2 separate regions of the Homo sapiens genome follow, and region 2 is linked to region 1. Evidence: promoter capture Hi-C in human tissues and cell types (Jung and others, 2019). All regions are on one chromosome and are shown on one strand. The core of a region is centred on a gene start or on the middle of the fragment in contact, and the rest is flanking DNA. Distances in the headings are between cores, read along the strand shown.

Region 1 (6,485 bases), core at 263-2,762:
GTGACAATAATTTTTCTGTCTCTGTGGCTCGTGGTGACGAATAAGTAAGGAGACTCTTATAAAGCATCCACCATCATTCTTGGCACACAGTTGGATGTTTAGATTTTGAGGGAAAGTTTTAAATGGTGCAGGGAGACAGAAGTGTTTCATGTTCTGATACTTTTAAATTACTATCATTGTTTGAAGAAAACATGAAGGGATTTAGAGACTCAAAACCACATGAATGAGTCAGTAGTACTTCAGTTAGTCACTACTACAACTTAACAGGTTCCATGAAGTATACATAGTGACTGCTCGGTTTTCTTGGTCATCTTCAACCTGTGTCAGCTTTTGCCTGAGCTCTCTTACTTTCTGTGAAGGGGCACGCTCTTTTTTCTTTGTTTTTCCTTTTGAGACAGGGTCTTGCTCTGTTGCCCAGGCTGGAGTGTAGCGGTATGATCACAGCTCACGGCAACCTCCACCTCCCAGGCTCAAGCAATCCTCCAGTCTCAGCCTCCCAAATAGCTGGGACTACAGGTGTCTGCCACCATACCCCATCACGCCCAGATAATTTCTTTCTTTCTTCTTTTTTTCTTGCTTGCTTGCTTGCTTGCTTGCTGTTTGTTTGTTTTTATTTTATCTTTTGCTATGTTGCCCAGGCTGTTCTTGAACCCCGGGGCTCAAGCGATCAGCCTGCCTCAGCCTCCCAAAGTGTTAGAATTACAGGCGTGAACCACTGAACCCAGCCTTTGATTTTACTGTTCTCCTCACACCTCTTACTAGAAACCAGTTGTAATCCACTTCTCACAAGCAGCTTAGCTCACCATTCTTTCTGGCAGACATTTCTGAAACAGTATTTTTGAGAGATCAGTTTTAGCGAAAAGACATGTCACACAGGGATTGGCATTTGGCAGTTCACCGGTGAAGTGTTGGAGGCACTGCTGTGTAGCAGTGCAACTGTTGAAAACCACCAGGTGGTGGAGAGGGCCGGCAGGGAGACGGTTCGAGTTTCTACCAAGCTGTGCAATCTTGGGCAAATTCGGTAATTTTCTGTGTCTTCATTTAATTGTCTGCAAAGTGGCGACATACACAGGGTTGCGGTGAGGACTCATGAGATAAAGGAAGTAGAATTGTCCATTGTACTTCTACTTAGCAAACGGTGGGACTCTTATTGCCCGGGGTGCCATCCTGGGGCAGGCTGCCATGTGTGCGCGTGTGTGCGCGCGCCCTCTGACCTGCGAGTGTGTTTCCTGGCGCGCGTGTGGATGTGTGTGCTGGGCCGCCCTGGGAGTGTGTGATTGCTCTCGCCAGGCTCACAGCGAGGCGCCCGCCGCGGCTGATTGACAGCGCTGGGTGAATGAGCGCGCGTGGAGGCGCCCGGCACCGAGGTGGCCGCGGCTCCGCGCTGCTGTGAGCGCCTGCCTGCCCGCCCGGGTGTGGGGGGACCGCGGGTGGCGGGCTGGGTGGGAGGAGGAGGAGGAGGAGGAGGAGAGAGGGCGCGGGAGCGAGGGCGGGCGGACGGGAGGGCCGTCAGAGCCGGCTGCCGCGGAGCCCCGGCGCGGGCGGCTTCGCCGGGGAGCGAGGCTCGGAGCCAGGAGGCGGCGCCGCTGGGAGGGAGCGCGGAGTGCGGAGTGCGGAGCGCGGGGCCTGGCCGCCCGCCTGGTGAGAGCGCTGCGGGCCGGGGCTGGGCCGGGGGCGGCTCAGGGGCAGCGGGGCGGCGAGGCTGCGGTCTCTGGACTAGGCGAGGGGCCGCCGGGGGCTGGAGGTCCGGATCTTCAGTCGGGGCGCTGGGCACAACAGAGAGAAGCGGTGAGATACCACGAAGCGTTGCCCAGCTGGGCGCCAGGGCCGCCACGACCGCCCCTTTTCGGAGGCTCGGCGAGGAGACCTGCCTGCGGGAGAGACCCCGGGGAGCAGGTCGGCCGGTCCGGGCTGGGGGTGTGTGTGCGTGTGCGCGCGCGTGTGTGCATGTGTGCCTGCGAGGGGTGGTGGGCGTGTACGAGTGTGGGGGGATGGCGGTGTGTGGCATGTCTGTGTGTGTGAATGTGTGTAGGGGGTGTGCATCTCTGTACAGTACATGCCGTGTGTGTGTGTGTGTGTGTGTGTGTGTGTGTGTGTGAGAGAGAGAGAGAGAGAGAGAGAGAGACAGGGGAGGCCGGGGGCTCACAGAGCTTGGGTTTGAACCCATGCAGGGAGGAGAGTGGCTCGGCAGGACGGAGTGTGTGTGTGTGTGTGCGCGCGCGCGTGCAGGGGCAGGGGGGTATGTGACGGGTGAGTGTGTCACGGGCGCTAGATGTGGCTATGTGTGTGATGTAAGGGTGCCGGGTGCATGTGTGTCCCTGGCTCACCCTCCCTTCCCCCACCAGATGTGTGCGCACAGAGGAGAGAGTTCTGGGGAGGGGGTAGGAGTCCGCCGCAGCTGCCTGCAGTTCGCCCAGCTTGCCTGCCTGGCGTTCTCCTCCAGGAAGCCGGAGATCGCCAAGCTGCCCCTCCCCCGAATACTTCAAGGGTCCTAGGGAAGGGAACAGGCCCAGCCCCAGGAAACGGGAGGGGCGGGAGGGAGGGTGCTTCTGCCAGATTGGGAACCTTGCTTCTCTGGCCAGAGCCTGGGCGGCCTTCTGACTGGGCCAGATCACTCAGCTCTGGCTTTACCCCTCCCGAGGCCCTGTGCCCCCTGGGGTCTGAGAGTGAGGGCGCCAGCACTTCTGGCTGGGGCGGGAGGTGGGGGTTGGAATAGGTCAAGACATCGGAAGGGCTTGCTTGTTCACAGTTATATGCCCAGAAGGGTGCTTGGCAAACGGTAAGCCTGCGTAAAGACTTGAGGCTCAGCAGAGGGAAGGAAGAGAGGAATCCATGTCTGGAAGCCCAAGTCCATCCCTTTTGCTACTAGTTAAGGATGAGGGCCCCTGGTTGCAGTCAGACCCCAGCTTCTGCATGAGCAGAGGGGGAAGGAGGAACCCCCAGGCAGGGATTTGTGCTGGGGCCTGAAGGTACAGGAAGGGCCCGGCAAGAAGAGCCAGAGCCATGGACAGGACACTTTGCATCCTGCCCACACTACCTGCTTCTCTGAGATCAGAAGCCTCTCTCTGGGACATCCGATCCTGGGAAAGGGAAGAGGGGGGCCACAGCCAGGGCTCACAGGGCCTCTCCTCTCTCCAGGACCTTCCTCCTCAAAAGCTGCTGAACAACTGAGTCCCTGCCCACCAAGGCCACCCGAAGCCAGGTGGGGCCATGGCCAGGCATGGCTGTCTAGGGCTGGGACTGTTCTGCTGCGTCCTGTTTGCTGCTACTGTGGGCCCCCAGCCCACCCCCTCCATCCCAGGTGCCCCTGCCACCACTTTGACCCCCGTACCTCAAAGTGAGGCCTCTATGCTGTCTCTCAACCTGGGACTTAACTTCAAATTCCATCTTCGGGGACCTGCTGCTGTCTGGGGGAGCCCAGTCACAGAGACCCAGCCACTCTCTCTTGGGCCAGGCCAGGAGCCAGGGGAAGAGGTGGCCAGTGGGCTGAGGACTGACCCCCTTTGGGAATTGCTGGTGGGCTCCTCAGGGAACTCTCTCACTGAGTGGGGCTCCACCGAAGGTGGCTCAAAGCCCCGGGCCTCCTCCCTGCTTCCGGAGTCCACATCCCGGCGCTCTGGGCCCAGCGATGGGCCCACTGCCCCCTATCAGCCCAGGAGGAGCACTGTGACCTGGGACACTGCTCTGATGGTGACAGCACTTCCATCCAGTGCTCCCAGGCCCCACCAGAGCGAGCTGGAGCTGAAGTTTGACATGGCACTGAGAGCAGGTGCAGCCCCCACGCTTGGGCATCGAACGCTGCCCCTGCTGCCCAGCCTGCGGGCCAGCCTGGCAGAGATTGCTGGGCGCCTGGGACCCTTTGGTGAGTAACCACCCCATCCCAAGGAAAGCCCCTGCTGGGCACCCCTGGCAGGTAGGAGGCAGCTTCAGCCTGGGCTTCTTTTGCAGGATTCTTTGGCACTACTCTGTCCCCACTCCGGAACTTCTCCGGCCTGAGCCCCCCAGGTGAAACTACATCCACAAGCTCTGCCTCTGGAGTTTCGGGTTCTCTGGGTGAGTTTATTTCATTGCAATAAACTATTGTGGAACACTCTACGTGCCAAGCGCTGTGCTAGGAGCCTAACAAGTACCTTTCTTTTTTTACTTTCTTGCATTGCTTCTTCCAGGCCCTAGGATATGGGCTACTACTTCCACGGAAGGAGTATTCTCTTTGCCATACTGAATCTGGTTTGCTCTTTGTAGCTTAGCTCATGGTGTACATGAGCTTAGCATGTGGCTACAATTCCTGGGACAGTGACTTCCTTAGGACAAACTCTGGGGAAGGACATAATTTTCTCCAAACTCCCAGAGGCAAGGCTGGTTGGTGGGGTGGCACTTGAGCCCCATGTGCTCCCTTTGCAGGGTTCCTTGGTACCACTCTGTCCCTGCCCCCATACTCCCTGGAGAGGAAGCTCTCCAGCCCAAGTCCTCTGGACCCAGCTGCTTCCCTAAGTTTTGCCTCGATTGCAACAACATCATTAGGTAAGTATCCAATTCATTTGAACTTGACAATTATTTATTGAGCACTTACTACATGCTAGTCACTCATCAGTGTTCTGGGACCCTTTTATTTCATTGTCATCATAATCATAATCATCATTCTCTTCATCATCACCGTGGAGATATATATGAATGGTCTGAGAGAAAGTATTGCTGGAGAAAGTCCCACACAGAGTTAAGTAATGGTCCCCTGAGTGTTTTGCAATGAGAGGCAGAGCAGGATGTAGACAGATGTATCAGGGACAAACAGACACAGGAACTTCTTCATGATTTCCACAGCCCTGGCACTAACCCCACCCTCCACTCCAGTCTGCCTGACCTGACTCCCCACCAACCTTGGGGCTCTTTCCTTTGCCATCTGATCTGACATGACATGCTGTCAGATATGGGAAGAGCTGGGTTTCTCATTGGGAAGACACTGAGGAGGAGACCTTGAGCAGGCAGATGCCACCTTCGTTCAAGAAAGCCTTTCAGAACATGCACACGGACAAGCTGGTGGTACGAGGAAAGACCACAGGCTCGGGAATCTTGAGACCTGGCTTTGAATCACAATTTATTTACTCACTAGCTAGTGACTTTAGGCACGTTATTTAACCTCTCTGAACCTAAATTTTCTCATAGACCCAGGGTTTAATAATAGTACTTGCTAGTTATTGCAAAGCTCTTAGCATGATGCTGGGCACAAAGTAGAGGCTCATTAAATAGTAGCTATTAACCTTGCTTCTGTCCCCCACTGCATCCCAAATCCACTTCCAGACCCTACCTCTCAGAAACCTCAGCCTTGGCCCCAGGCAGTGGTGGGACAACACAAACCACACAGCAGAGGGCACAGGAGCTGGAGGAGAGGTTCTGGTGGATGAGGCAGGGAGTCATGGAGAGGGACTGAGGGGCTTTCAGGCCCAGCTTTGCTCTGCAAAAGGTTTACTGTGGCTGTGAAACTTCTCAGTCACCCCTCACTAGGCTCAGCAGTGGAAACCACTGGTCTCCCCAGCTTCTTCCAGCTCCAGACTTAACCCATGACCTGGTTCTCTGGCTCACTCCAGCCACAGTCACTGCACTCCCTTGGATGGTGGGTGAGGGGCCTGCTATGCCTCTGTCCAGCCCAGCGTGCAGCAGGGGCAGGATGTGATTGGGGGTAGGGGGCAGTTTCTGTGCCTCAGGGGAAGGATGCTGGCTGGCAGTCTGTCGGCCTTGGTGACAGCGCTGGCCAGGCAGGTTTAATGAGTCTGGACAGTATCAGAGGCAGTGCAGCCGGGCAGGCTGGCGGCCCCACCTCATTCCCCCTCCTCCCTGGTAGCTGCAGGAACCCAGCCCCTGATACTGCACCTCTAAATAAACCCAGGAGAGCTATAGGCCTCCTGGAGAGAACGCCAATGGGCCTTGCTCTTGCCAGCAGAGAGAGAGAGAGAGAGAGAGAGAGAGAGAGTGTGTGTGTGTGTGTGTGTGTGTGTGTATTTGTATCAAGCAGTTACCATACAAAGGGAGTCTCTCTGTGTTGCCTCTAGAATCTTTCTAACCTAAGTGCAACTAACCTTTGACTCCTAGGCCCTCCTTGCCTTAGGTCCCCTTCACCTCAGACAGAGCCTGTATTCAGTCCATACATACCAGAACAGTTATCAAGTTAATCAGTGTGCAGCTTTCATACCAGTGAATCAGTGCCCACCTCGCTTAGTCCACAGAGGGTTCCCCTCCACTCCCTGACCACTCTGGCTGGTGTCAGTTCTGATTGGCTGGCACCTGTGCCAACTCAGTTGCTAGACATTTTGAGTGTCACCCCTACAAAGTGTAACCACCCTCCATGAACCTGGAGGTGGGGGTGGGGAGAGGGATGGGGCCAGGCCACTGAATGGGCTGTAGCTTCCAGCATCCAGAGTGGAGACATGATTCCTAGCCCTTTGATCTGGGCAGCTGGTGGATAATCAGGCCTGACTTTTCCATGAATCAAA
Region 2 (6,376 bases), core at 3,761-6,260, 35 kb after region 1:
CTAACTGCATGTCTTTCCATGTGTTTTAAAAATTGTATTATTTGGAACTGCCATATAAATGATTTTGTATTTGCGGAGGATCTGTCTAACAGGAAGGAAGAAATGTCACAGTGAAGAAGAAGCCTGTGACCTCAGTACTAAGGATACCATTCCTTATACACCTTTTAATAAAGAACTTAGGGAAATAAAGGGGTGGAAGAGAGAAAACTATGTCTATCTTAGATAAGGCAAATTAAAAGAAATAATGTAGCTAGGATATGTTTTATTGCAGAAAACCTTTTTTATCTGGGTTATCCATGAAATAGAATCATTCATGGGGCTATTCAGTGCATATAAGAGAAGTAAAATTACAGATACTTATTAGGGACTGTTTTGCTTACCCCTGGAAGGATTTACATAGTTGGGGAAATGAGGAATCTTTATACTGTGTTGAAATTTTAGGACAACAAAATTTCCTTCCAACATTTTTTTAATCCCATCGAGAGAAGTAAGTAGTTGTCTTTTTTTGAACTTAGTAAATTTTACTGTATTTGCTTTTGTGTTACTATTTTGAGGGATTTTTCTGACTTTAGTAAGATTTTAATTGAAACCTGGATTTAATAGCAACACAGAGGAAAAAATGGCTAATTAAGAGAGATAATTTGACTTTTCTCACTAGTCTGCTGTGAGTCTTCTAGTTTGTAGTAAGAGAAATGAATTTTGGTCAATTTAAGTGGAAAAAGAGGGTTTCAGAATCAAAGTTGTCAAAGAGCAAGCCTCAGGAAGAGGGTGAAAATCTGGGCAGTTCTGGGGCCCTAGGTGATGGAGGCTGTGGGTCTTTTCTCTGGGGACACCACTTTTTTTTTTTTTTTTAAGGTATAACATAGATTCTGTAAAGTACATTAATCTAAGCATATAGCTCAGTTAAAATTTTATATGTATACATCCATGTAGCCACCACCCAGATCAAGATGTAGAAATTTCCAGCACCCCAGAAGTTTCCCTAGTGGGGGGCACCGCTGTTTAGAAATGAATCTTTACCTGCAGTTTCTGGTCTTTGTATGTGTCTGTTTACGTTTTCAGATTCCTGAGAAAGAGAACCTCATTGACAAAGGAAAGTCAGTTGGGGCCAAGGGTCACTGGGGGCCATCCCTATGTATTAGTGCTATTTCTGAACAAGGGAGAGTTGATATCTAACTCACTTACATTGTCCTGGAACATAGGATCTCACTTATGTAATTGACTTTTCTTGTGATCATCTGGTTATCTTCCATAGAAATCTGTCCTTTGACTCAGAAGAAGAAGAACTTGGGGAGCTTCTCCAACAGTTTGGAGAACTCAAATATGTCCGCATTGTCTTGCATCCAGACACAGAGCATTCTAAAGGTATGTGTTGTCAGCTGGCCAGGCCCTAAAAGGGTTGAGACCACTGCCGTGGGCACTGACTAGGTTACGAGAGCATAATGTGTGCCATTTTGAGGGGTTCACAGTCCATCCAGCCCAGGTTTCTGGGTTCTATAAAAGTACCAGGGACGCCGGGCACGCTGGCTCACGCCTGTAATCCCAGCACTTTGGGAGGCTGAGGCAGGCAGATTGCCTGAGCTCAGGAGTTTGAGACCAGCCTGGGCAACACGGTGAAACCCCGTCTCTACTAAAATACAAAAAATTAGCAGCGTGCACCTGTAGTCCCAGCTACCTGGGAGGCTGAGACAGGAAAATTGCTTGAACCCGGGAGGTGGAGGTTGCAATGAGCCGAGATCATGCCACTGCACTCCAGCCTGAGCCACAGAGCAAGACTCTTGTTTCCACGAAAAAAAAAAAAAAAAAAAAAAAGGACCAGGGACATCCTGGTCTTTAATGGTGTCACACTCAGCATCTTTAATGGTGCTGCTAGCCATAATTTTGTCTAAGCTTTTTAATCCCTTGCTTATTTACTTTAGGGTAATGAATTCCATTTTTGCTCTTTGCATTTCAAATGTGATAGTATCTCATAGGTACTAATCATTCCACATTGCTTGAAATTACCAGGATCTTTTTTTTTCCTGTTGCTTTTGTTAGAGGTAGAAGCTGACAGAAAAACTCTGTTGCAGTGTCAGCCGTTAGAAGGAAAACTCTATGTTGCAGGAGTGCTGCCTTAGATTTCTTTTTTTTTCCAAAAGCTATTTCTTTTGAGTTTTAAGCATTGACCATTCTTCGTTCTAGTATACTGTTGTTAGGTAAACATCTTTCCAACCCATTCATAATCTTTGATTTCACCTATTGCAGTCATTCTCCTAAAGCACTAAGTTCTTTTTTTTTTTTTTTTTTTTTTTTTTTGAGACGGAGTCTCACTCTGTTGCCCAGGCTGGAGTGCAGTGGCGCCATCTCGGCTCACTGCAAGCTCCGCCTCCTGGGTTCACGCCATTCTCCTGCCTCAGCCTCCTGAGTAGCTGGGACTACAGGTGCCCACCACTGCACCCGGCTAATTTTGTGTTTGTATTTTTAGTAGAGTTGGGGCTTCACCGTGTTAGCCAGGATGGTCTCCAACTCCTGACCTTGTGATACACCCGCCTTGGCCTCCCAAAGTGCTGGGATTACAGGCGCGCCCGGCGTTAAGTTCTTAATTTATTGTGATTCATGATTCGTTTGAGATCTAGCAAAAGCTGTGAATCCTCTCCTTAGAAAAATGCTGCTTCGGAGGCTGTGTGGGCTCTCTTGAGCCTATCCACAGCTTAAGAACCTACCTCCATTCTAAGCCTTTTTATCTTTCACATTGATAGAACCTAATCACTTTTGATTTTTACTCAGCTAAAAAAAAGTAAGACCTGGCCGGGAGCGGTGGCTCACGCCTGTAATCCCAGCACTTTGGGAGGCTGAGGCAGGCGGATCACCTGAGGTCGGGAGTTCAAGAGCAGCCTGACCAATATGGAGAAACCCCATCTCTACTAAAAATACAAAATTAGCCGGGCGTGGTGGCGCATGCCTGTAATCCCAGCTACTCGGGAGGCTGAGGCAGGAGAATTGCTTGAACCTGGGAGGGGGAGGTTGTGGTGAGCCGAGATCGTGCCACTGCACTCTAGCCTGGGCAACAAGAGCAAGACTCCGTCTCAAAAAGAAAAAAAAAAGTTTAAGACCTGGTGTGTGCCTGAAATCCCAGCTACTCAGGAGGCTGCGGGGAGCCCAGGAGTTAGAGGCTTCAGTGAGCTATGATTGCCACTGCACTCGAGACTGTGAGACAGAACAAGACCGCCTCCATCTCTTTAAAAAAAAAAAAAAAAAGATGTGAATAAGGCAGCACTGTGGAACAGAGTTAGAGATCTAATCCCAGCTATGCTACAGATAGACTGGGTGATTTTTGGCAAATCATTTAACTACCGTTGGCTTCAGGTTTTCATCTGTAAAATGAGTGGGTTTGAGTAATCACTTAAGGTACCTGCAGCTCTCATGTTTAGTTATACTACTTGGATCTTTTCCATTTCTAAAATGTTTTTAGACAATTTGAATTGCATAGAATGTTCCAAGTTAGTGGTATGATATTGCTTTACTTTGGTGGTAGTATCTTTTGTCTCTTTTTTAGTGCAGTAGTATATTGGGTTAATACTTTTAGAATGAAGCCTACAATTGACTGACTAGATATCCCTTGCGGTCTATTAATGTTAACAGAGTTCATGATCTTAATAAGCATAGTTTTAATCATTTAAAAAAAATGTATTGTCCTTCCCTAGCTCATTAAATTTTTCTGATACCTTTTTTGCCTACTCATGCAGCCTCGTGCTGCTCCTGTAGTTTATCCCTCTCAGCATGCCATTTCACTACCTGGAAGAGCTAAGTATTAACTGCAGTCTTTTAGGGAAATGTTAAGACTGAACCCAGTACTGACTCTGGAAACTCCAATGATAAAATTCTTACCCATTCAGAGAGAAGCACCCATTTTCTTCATATTCAATCTAATTAGATTCATTTGAATCTGCCTATTAGAAACATTTTCCCCATATTTCCTTATTTGTTTCTTTCTATTGAGTATCTGTTAATGCTGTACACTATAGTAGGTGCTAGGGATATAGAAACAGATAAGAATTGTGGTCATTTTTCCTGAGGTATTCATTCTGTTTGGGAAGATGTCACCTGAGTAGTGCTATAATAAAGATGTGAGTGGAAGATAGGAGGCAGGAGGGGACACAGAAGCTTCTAGATGGTGACCTTTGTGTTGGCCTGGCGCATGTGTCCTTTCAGTTAGTCTGTGCCATTCATTTTTATAGGAGGCAGAAGATCAATGCCCCCACTAGCTCTAGGAAATATGGCAGCATCTGAGAGAATATTTAAAATTTAAAGGAATACTAAACAAAATTATGAAACTTGTATTTCTTTTTTGGAATCTACTGAAAGGTAAACTTACTTTCTTTGCTTATAAAAGTTGTTTTTTATTGACCGGGTGCAGTGGCTCACACCTGTAATCCCAGCACTTTGGGAGGCCAAGGCAGGCGGATCACCTGAGGTTGGGAGTTCGAGACCAGCTTGACCAACATGGAGAAACCCTGTCTCTACTAAAAATACAAAATTAGCTGGGCATGGAGGCACCTGCCTGTAATCTCAGCTACTTGGGAGGCTGAGGCAGAAGAGTCACTTGAACCCAGGAGGCGGAGGTTGCAGTGAGCCAAGATTGAGCCATTAGACTCCAGCCTGGGCAACAAGAGCGAAACTCCGTCTCAAAAAAAAAAAAAATTGTTTTTTTGTCAATAGCAGAAATAGAGATGGGTTAATTGGTCCTGCATCTAATCAAGGAAAGGCATGCCTTATGGAGATTCTAGAGTATGAGCCAAGAATTGAGCTCCTGGCTTTCTGGTTCCCTGCTATATTCATATAGTAGAGGACAGAGACTTTTACTCTGAGAAGCAGATCTGCCCATATCTGATGCCTCCCAAGTGACTGTGTGACAGTGAGATCTGTAATTAAGTTCAGGGTTAAGTGGTTCCTGCTTTATTTTTTAGTCCTCTAATAGGTACTTCATAAGTGATGCTGAATTAAGTGTTAGGCTGGAATTTCTCTACCATTTCATGTGGATATTTCTTTTCTTTTCTTTTCTTTCTTTTTTTTGAGACAAGGTCTCGCTCTGTCACCCTGGCTGTAGTGCAGTGATCATGGCTTACTGCAGCCTTGACCTCCCGAGGTCAGGTCATCCTCCCACCTCAGCTTTCTCGGTAGCTGGGACTATAGGCATGCACCACCACACCCAGCCAATTTTTTTTTTTCTTTCGTAGAGACAGGGTTTTGTCATGTTGCTTAGGCTCTAACTCTTGGGCTTAAGCGATCTTCCTGCCTTGGTCTCCTAAAGAGCTGGGATTACAAGTGTAAGCCACCACACCCAGCCTTCACATGGATATTTCTTATTAAGAGAGATCATGAGACTAAAGTTCTAAGAAGAATTAGAACAGATGAAGGAAGTAATAATAAAATTTCATTAAGAGCAGTGGTATCTTTGTCTTGATTATTTGGTACCTAACATAGTGCCTGTGTCATAGTGCAATATGCGTCACTTAATGATGGGGATACATTCTGCAAAGTTCATTATTTGGTGATTTTGTCATTGTGTGAATGTCATAGTGTACTTATACAAACCTAGGTGGTATGGCCTACTACACACATAGGTCATATGTGCTCCTAGGCTACAAACCTGTACAGCACAGCATGTTGTTATACTGAATGTTGTAGGCAGTTGTAACATAATGGTAAGTATATGTGTATCTAAGTATTTCTAAACATAGAAAAGGTATAGTAAAATGCAGTATAAAAGATAAAAAATGGTACAACTGTATAGGGCAGATCCATTGTAATCTTCTGGGACCACTGTTGTATATGCAGTCTGTCACTGACCAAAACGTCCTTATGCAAGTACATGGCTGTACTTTTTTTTTTTTTTTTTTTTGAGACGGAGTCTTGCTCTGTTGCCCAGGCTGGAGTGCAGTGGCACTATCTTGGCTCGCTGCAACTCCGCCTCCCAGGTTTACGCCATTCTCCTGCCTCAGCCTCCCAAGTAACTGGGACTACAGGTGCCCGCCACCACGCCTGGCTAATTTTTTGTATTTTTAGTAGCGACGGGGTTTCACTGTGTTGGCCAGGATGGTCTTGATCTCTTGACCTCATGATCTGCCCGCATCGGCCTCCCAAAGTGCCGGGATTACAGGTGTGAGCCACTGCACCCGGCTACATGGCTGTACTTAATAAATGGATGCCACCTATCCCTTCCACTCTGTGTCAGGCTGTTGCCATTTGCAATGTTGTCTTTGGTTTATCTGTGGGAGTTTGGGATCTCACTGAATTGTGTCTCCTTGTGCAGGTTGTGCATTTGCCCAGTTCATGACTCAAGAAGCAGCTCAGAAATGCCTTCTAGCTGCTTCTCCAGAGAATGAGGTAAGGAAGA

The links. The method cuts DNA at HindIII sites, captures the fragments that hold promoters and counts their contacts. A contact is called where the count stands out against the background at its distance.
Region 2: a fragment that was not itself captured here is called in contact with the fragment with the promoter of PRRT4 in region 1 in 5 of the 25 tissues and cell types used here (heart left ventricle, lymphoblastoid cells, mesendoderm cells and 2 more).

What each region holds. Positions count from the first base shown.
Region 1 is chr7:128,356,717-128,363,201 of GRCh38, reverse strand. It overlaps PRRT4 (proline rich transmembrane protein 4), which reads left to right and starts at 1,512. Exons shown (of 6, transcript NM_001174164.2): 1 at 1,512-1,641; 2 at 1,780-1,896; 3 at 3,139-3,862; 4 at 3,949-4,053; 5 at 4,402-4,521. The coding sequence starts at 3,211. RefSeq lists enhancers at 1,577-2,445, 2,446-3,314, 3,315-4,184. The HindIII fragment of the contact is 21,921 bases long and covers 1-6,485 here.
Region 2 is chr7:128,325,808-128,332,183 of GRCh38, reverse strand. It overlaps RBM28 (RNA binding motif protein 28), which reads left to right. Exons shown (of 19, transcript NM_018077.3): 10 at 1,256-1,365; 11 at 6,293-6,366. Among named protein-coding and RNA genes, the nearest start is that of RBM28, 15 kb to the left of the region's middle. The HindIII fragment of the contact is 3,986 bases long and covers 3,018-6,376 here.